Regions from separate parts of the Homo sapiens genome. Here region 1 is linked to region 2. Evidence: promoter capture Hi-C in 16 types of primary human blood cells and fetal thymus (Javierre and others, 2016). All regions are on one chromosome and are shown on one strand. The core of a region is centred on a gene start or on the middle of the fragment in contact, and the rest is flanking DNA. Distances in the headings are between cores, read along the strand shown. Region 1 overlaps GEMIN8 (gem nuclear organelle associated protein 8). Region 2 holds the start of PRPS2 (phosphoribosyl pyrophosphate synthetase 2).

Evidence for each region. Contacts are between HindIII fragments. The CHiCAGO score rates a contact against its expected background, and 5 or more counts as called.
Region 1: a fragment that was not itself captured here is called in contact with the fragment with the promoter of PRPS2 in region 2 in 1 of 17 cell types (activated CD4 T cells); the score reaches 5.8 in activated CD4 T cells.

What each region holds. Positions count from the first base shown.
Region 1 is chrX:14,018,673-14,021,986 of GRCh38, reverse strand. It overlaps GEMIN8 (gem nuclear organelle associated protein 8), which reads left to right. Exons shown (of 5, transcript NM_001042479.2): 3 at 476-523; 4 at 1,453-1,909. The coding sequence starts at 509. Among named protein-coding and RNA genes, the nearest start is that of GEMIN8, 9.6 kb to the left of the region's middle. The HindIII fragment of the contact is 347 bases long and covers 1,783-2,129 here.
Region 2 is chrX:12,789,704-12,792,970 of GRCh38, reverse strand. It overlaps PRPS2 (phosphoribosyl pyrophosphate synthetase 2), which reads right to left and starts at 1,559. Exons shown (of 7, transcript NM_002765.5): 1 at 1,352-1,559. The coding sequence starts at 1,473. RefSeq lists a silencer at 854-1,303. The HindIII fragment of the contact is 8,457 bases long and covers 750-3,267 here.

The DNA.
Region 1 (3,314 bases), core at 707-3,206, 1.2 Mb before region 2:
TATATATACACACATATATATGTGTATACATACATATACATATATATGTGTGTATACATTATACATTATACATATACATTATCTGGGACTTGGAGAATAAGACATCTCTCCAGCCTCAGTATATATATCAGTATATATATACTATATATATATATATATATATATATATATACACACACATTAACTACTAAATATTTATATGGTCATTTTCATAGACTTTACTTCCTATAGGGAAATAAGTAATTGAACCATGCAGGATCTTTTGACCCACTTAATCAAACCTAAGTGGATCCCTCCTTTTCAGACCACAAAGTTATAGCCCAGGAACCAACGTCATATAGATAGGTTGCATGAAATCAGGCATGGTCCTGGGAAGAGGCAGTTCCTTGGGAGCTGCCTCACAAACCATAGAATAGCCACAAATATCACACAGCCATACTGATCAGACGTTTGCACTGTGATTCTTCTTTCCTAGTTTCAGCACCCATTTGGACTTTCACAATCAGAGATGGCAGCGGTAAAGGTAAGATTTTTATTTTTTTATTTTTTTTTTGAGCTCGTAAGTAAAAAAGGTAAACTTTAGTCTTTTTTTTTATACTTTAAGTTTTAGGGTACATGCGCACAACGGGCAGGTTAGTTACATATGTATACATGTGCCATGTTGGTGTGCTGCACCCATTAACTCGTCATTTAACATTAGGTATATCTCCTAATGCTATCCCTCCCCCCTCCCCCCACCCCACAACAGTCCCTGGTGTGTGATGTTCCCCTTCCTGTGTCCATGTGTTCTCATTGTTCAATTCCCACCTGTGAGTGAGAACATGCGGAGTTTGGTTTTTTGTCCTTGCGATAGTTTGCTGGTAAATTTTAGTCTTTAAAGTTTGGTATTCTCATTGCACGATGGAGAAGACCTAAGAAATACAAAAGTAAAAGCACTATTGGGTGCATTCCTAGACATCTCTTACCCCAGGCATTTAGGGGTGGCTCAGGCCAGCAAGTTAGTTTAGGGGGCAGAAAGGGAAAAACTAAAGTCTGTCATGCTTGTCAGTCTAGTGTGGTTCTTAGCAGGCCGTTGCTCAGTTGGCAGTAGTCATTTAATTACAGTGGGTAGAGAGGGCTAAGGTGATAAACATCCAGTCTTCTCTCTCCCTGCGTCTCATCTAGAAACGATCACTAGCCTTCATCCCCACATTATAATGCTCCATAGCTTTAATTGGCTGGCTTGTGCATACCTTATGTACATGGACTTAGCAAGTGTGCATACACTTGGTGTCCACTGTGGGCCTGGACCTATCTCACACAATATTTTGGGCCCAGTAGCCTCCTCATGTAGGTAGGTATTTAGCAAATACTAAGTAAATACCTGTTGGGTAGCAGATTAAACATTTGAAGATTTCTCTTGAGGATAATAAACACTTTGGTGTCCACCCTCCACCTCCTTTCATTTTGTAGGCATCAACATCGAAAGCTACCAGGCCTTGGTATTCTCATCCGGTATATGCAAGATACTGGCAACATTATCATCAAGCAATGGCTTGGATGCAAAGCCATCACAATGCCTACAGGAAGGCCGTGGAATCCTGTTTCAATCTTCCATGGTACTTACCTTCTGCGCTTCTTCCCCAAAGCTCTTACGATAATGAGGCTGCGTATCCTCAGTCCTTCTATGACCATCATGTGGCCTGGCAGGACTACCCCTGCAGTTCTTCACATTTCAGAAGATCTGGGCAGCATCCACGTTACAGCAGTAGGATCCAGGCATCCACAAAAGAAGACCAAGCTTTGTCCAAAGAGGAAGAGATGGAGACTGAGTCAGATGCAGAGGTAGAATGTGACCTGAGCAATATGGAAATCACTGAAGAGCTCCGCCAGTACTTTGCAGAGACCGAGAGGCATAGAGAAGAACGACGTAAGTTCAGGCCTCTGTCTCTTCATGCTTCCTTTCCTTGCCCTGCCTTTTACATTTTTTTTCTCTAATATATAAAGTAATTTTATAATTCTTCATTGGCTAGGGTAATATTCCAAATCCAGTCCTAAGCCTGGAAAAGCTATGGGGATGCTGTACCTTGCTTATGTTAGTTTCTGGAGTTGTTTTAGTATAAGACATTTTTTTGTTCCAGAACAAAGCTTATCCTAATAGTAGTTCTACTATTTATTAACCATTAGACACTCTACCAAATGGAGTGTGTATGCATGCATGCTTGTGTGTGTGCGTGCTCTGATCTACACAGCAGTCCCTCAGAGTATTAAACTCATTTTATATATGAGGAAAGTGAACCTTAAAAAGGTTAATTGACTTGTTCCGTGGTACACAACTAGTAATTTGCTGTTAGGATCCAAACCAAATCTGCCTACCTCTACTTCCTGTACTGCTTTCTGTATACTAGGACTTGTCCCTGAGACTGCTAGGTTCCTAAAATACTTTTGCCATTCCTCTGGGACACATCTTGGAGATGTCCTTGGTGCTAGAGGTCCCAAATCTTAAATAGCATGAACCTAAACAGAGTAACGAAATGCCTGGCACTTACAACTTTCCTGTTGGTTCTGCATTGAGGCCCTGTCCATGGGGTCAGAGAATTATGATAAAGGTCTTATATCTTCAGTCAAAAACAGGAATTTTCTTTTTAAATTTCTTACCACCTTACTAGAAAGAACTAGAACAGCTTTTGTGCTCTCCTATTAAAATTCACCAGACCATTTCTAAGTACCTCTAACTGAGATACAAATGCTTCTTTCCCTATTATAACCAGTATTCATTCTCAATTTTGTTTTAAGTGAGGCCTAATTGTATGACATTTTACCTACAATTTTCCAATGACACAGAAGCGTAGAAACCTGGGAATGGGAGTTTCATTCCTGTCTGTCATTGTCAGCATTTTCCTAATGATGAATTAGCTTTTATTGATCCCCACTGGATGCCAAGAACTGAGCACTGGGCTTTGTATAAAATATTATATCCTTTAGTATCTTCGTCCGTGATTCTTCACTAAACTACTTGTTCAGATTTTTTTGACTTCCTTTCTTTTGTTTAAACTGTGTACTTCTTTAAGCATATTAGAAAGTATATCCAGCCAGGTGTGGTGGCTCACACCTGTAGTCCCAGCAACTCGGGAGGATGGCTTGAGCCCAGGAGTTTGAGGCTGCAGTGAGCCACGATCACACCACTGTACTCCAGCCTGGGTGACAGAGCGAGACCCTGGCTCAAAAAAAAAAAAAAAAAGAAAAGAAAAGAAAGAAAAGAAAAAGAAAAGAAAGAAAGAAGTATATCCAAACAAATACTTTTAAGACAGTACTTTCTATTACACACAGAATAC
Region 2 (3,267 bases), core at 310-2,809:
TTATCATCGGAGCCATAACTGGAATTTGCCACCTGGAAGAAGTCACGTAAGATTCACATATCCTAAAAAGCTGACTTGCCAAAATATAGCATCTTCCCCATCAGTATTAACATAACTCCTCCTTAAGAAATTTTTGCCTAACCCCAAGTCAAGATTTTCTGCTAGAAATTTTATAGTTCTAGATTTTACAATTAGGTCTATGATCCACTTCAAAGTTAATTTTTACAAATGGTGAAAAGTATGGATGGAAGTTCATATTTTTTGGCATATGGGTGTCCAACTGTTCCAACACCATTTCTAGAAAATGTTGGTAAAATTGAACCTTTGCCAAAGATATAAAAATTATCAGTAACTGTGGACAGTTAACGGTACTAGACATTGGAGGAAGAAGGGGGAAAAATGAGACCAATTTGAAATGAGTCAAGGAGCTGTGTGGACTCAGGCAGATAGACAAAGGAGCCCCCCAGGTCAGCTTCCGAGGATGGCCACCACCTGAGGCTCTCCTGGACTTGAGAAATGGGTGAAAGTTACAGTCGAATCACGGCGTTGTTGCTGGACACAGCAGAGTCCTAGAACAAGAAGGAAGCTGAAAGTCCATCATCTTTAAAGCAGCAAGAGTAGTGGGAGCAGAGGGGAGCCCAGCACGTGCGTCCTGGGGTTCTCACAGTCTTTCAAACCTTGGCACAACTGCACCCTCTGGATAACGCAGTGGTCTGCGCCCTGGCTGCTCAGGAGAAGCCAGGGAAGCTTGTAAAATCGCTGATCCTCCGCCCGTTGGATCAAACCCTTGGGGGCAGGTCGGGGGAAGCAGCGTTCGGACCGTCCCCAGGTAAACCCAGCGTGCAACCAGAGTTGGGGACGGGGGGAAACCTTTAGTCGCACGCACTGGTCTGAGGTTCAGCTTTGTAGGGACGCGGAAACTGGGACCAGCCAACCCAGGACGTCTCTCCACCGCGCGCTGACCCGATGCGGTTCCCGCCCGCTGCGCCCACTCTCTCCCCGACGGTCTGTGACCGCCCAGACGTCTCCCTTCCGGGCTGGGGACGCCAGGCCGGGCGGCACCGCTGGGAGGCCGGGAGCGGCTCGGGACCGCCGGGTCGCCGCGGTCCCAGGACCGGAGGCCCTGCAACCGGGGGCACAGCCGAGGCGCGCATCGGGACGCGCGGCGCCCCGCCTCGGTTTCTTCGCAGGCGCGGGCGCGGGGGCGCGGAGGCCGCGTTGCCACCGTCCCGCCCCGGAAGGGGGAGCGCGGCGTCCGCGGAGGTGGCCCGGGCAGGCGCCGGCCCCCAACCCGGCCCCGCAGCCGCGTGCCCAGCGCTCTCCCTAGCCCGGCCGCCGGCGCGGCCCCCACCTGGTCTCCTGGTTGCTGAACTTCTTCGTGACCACCTTGCCCAGCTCCAGGCCCAGGCGGTCGGCCACGCGCTGGGACAGGTCCTGATGCGAGCTGCCGCTGAACAGCACGATGTTGGGCATGGTGGGGCGCGGAACTCCGAGGGGCGCGCGGCGGCGGAGGAGGTGGCGGAGGCAACAGCGACAGCGACGCGGGAGGCTGCTGCTGCGGGAGCGGGAAAGCGCGGCGGCTAGATGTAGGGAAGGGGAGGAGCGGAGGGGGAGGAGCCGGAGGAGGAGCTAGAGGGGGCAGAGAGGGAGGAAGAGCGGGCGTGGAGGGGGAGCTGGAAAGTGCCGGGGGGCGGGGGCACAGCCCTGGCAGCAGTTTTGGACGCCCTGGGTGGTCCTGAAGCCCGAAGGTGTCCTTGCTCCGCGAGAGAGCTCCGAGCTTCATTCTTGATCTTCCAGACCTGCCTCGCGGGGAGAGCCAATGAACCGCGGTTAGCTGGGCACAGAGGGAGAGTTCGGGCCGGGGGGATCCCTCGAGGTGCTTCGCAGCCCGGAGCGACTTCCCACCCCGGAACACCGCAAACCCAGTGTGGGCGACTGGTGTTCAGCTATAGCAAGGGTCTGCAAACTACAGCCTATGGGCCAGATCGCGAGAGCTCCCTGTGTTTGTACCAGAGAGCTAAGCATGGTTTTCATACATGAACATTTGCACTTTATGTGATGATAGCAGACACCGCCTTTGAACTCCAATTAAGAGAAATATCCCCCCCGCAAAAGAATTCCTTTTCTCTCATTAATAGATGTGAGTTGCAAATAATTGTACTCAAATATTACCGTATTTTGGATTATATCAATAAAAACATTGTGACAATTTTTTCTCTCTTGTTATGTAAGTTCCTACGTAATATCTTCCCTTTTCTTGCTTGGTCTGCAAAATGTAAATATTGGCCATGTGGTCCCTCATAGTTCAAACTTGATGACCCCTGAACTACAGAGTTGCCCCTGCACCATGTGTCCTTAAAAAATCCAACCACTATGTGAGTCCTCATCACAGGCTGAGGGGAAGTATTGCTCTTGGTGGCTCACTGGATCAAACCAAGTCCCCCAGATTCACCATTTTTCGGTAGATGTGATGGTCCTTGGGGCACTTCACAACCTTCTGCCTGTTGGGTGCTCAAGGGCCTGATCCCAGGAACACAGATCTCCCTAGACAATCCAGCTCAGTCCCTCCACATCCCTGGAGTCAGGGCCTCCTTCCTCTCTTTCCTGCTAGAAACCAGCAAAAAGGTTTTCTCAAGATGCCAATGCAGTACCAGAGCCAACTTCAGGGCACAAACCAAGTGTAGGAGAAAGGAAAGCAGTCCCTGTCTATAGAGGGCTGGTTGGTGATGCTGGTCACAGTTTCACACTCCTCAACAAAGGCTGATTCAACCGGGTAGATAAATGGCTTGGTTTTACTAATGTTTGCCACGAATTGGCTCTCCATCAACAGCAAAGCCCACTTGCAATTGGGTTGTAGCCTACTCTAATCAGACTTCATAATGGGATTTGGGAGATTACAGGGATGATTCGCATCATTGGGATTTTTCATCTGGGTCCTTGTACTTTGCAAGGAGATTACTTGGCACATCGAGTGTTTCTTGTAAACTTTTGTATCTGCCAGCCTATCAAAAAGTTATTCAAACTGACAATTTTAGCAGCATTTCTGGCCCTTTTTCATTCCGCCTAGAGATGCATATGTGCCCTATTATGTGAGAAAACAAACAAAAACCCCTATCTGCAATGGTTTATTATCTATGTATTTCACAGCTAATTACCATAGCAATGAGATTTATACTTGACCCACTATGTTTAAAATTTTTATTGAGTCTGCTAATGTAGTTATATTTAAACTCTTCTAATAAAATTTACTATCAGCAAATTACTATA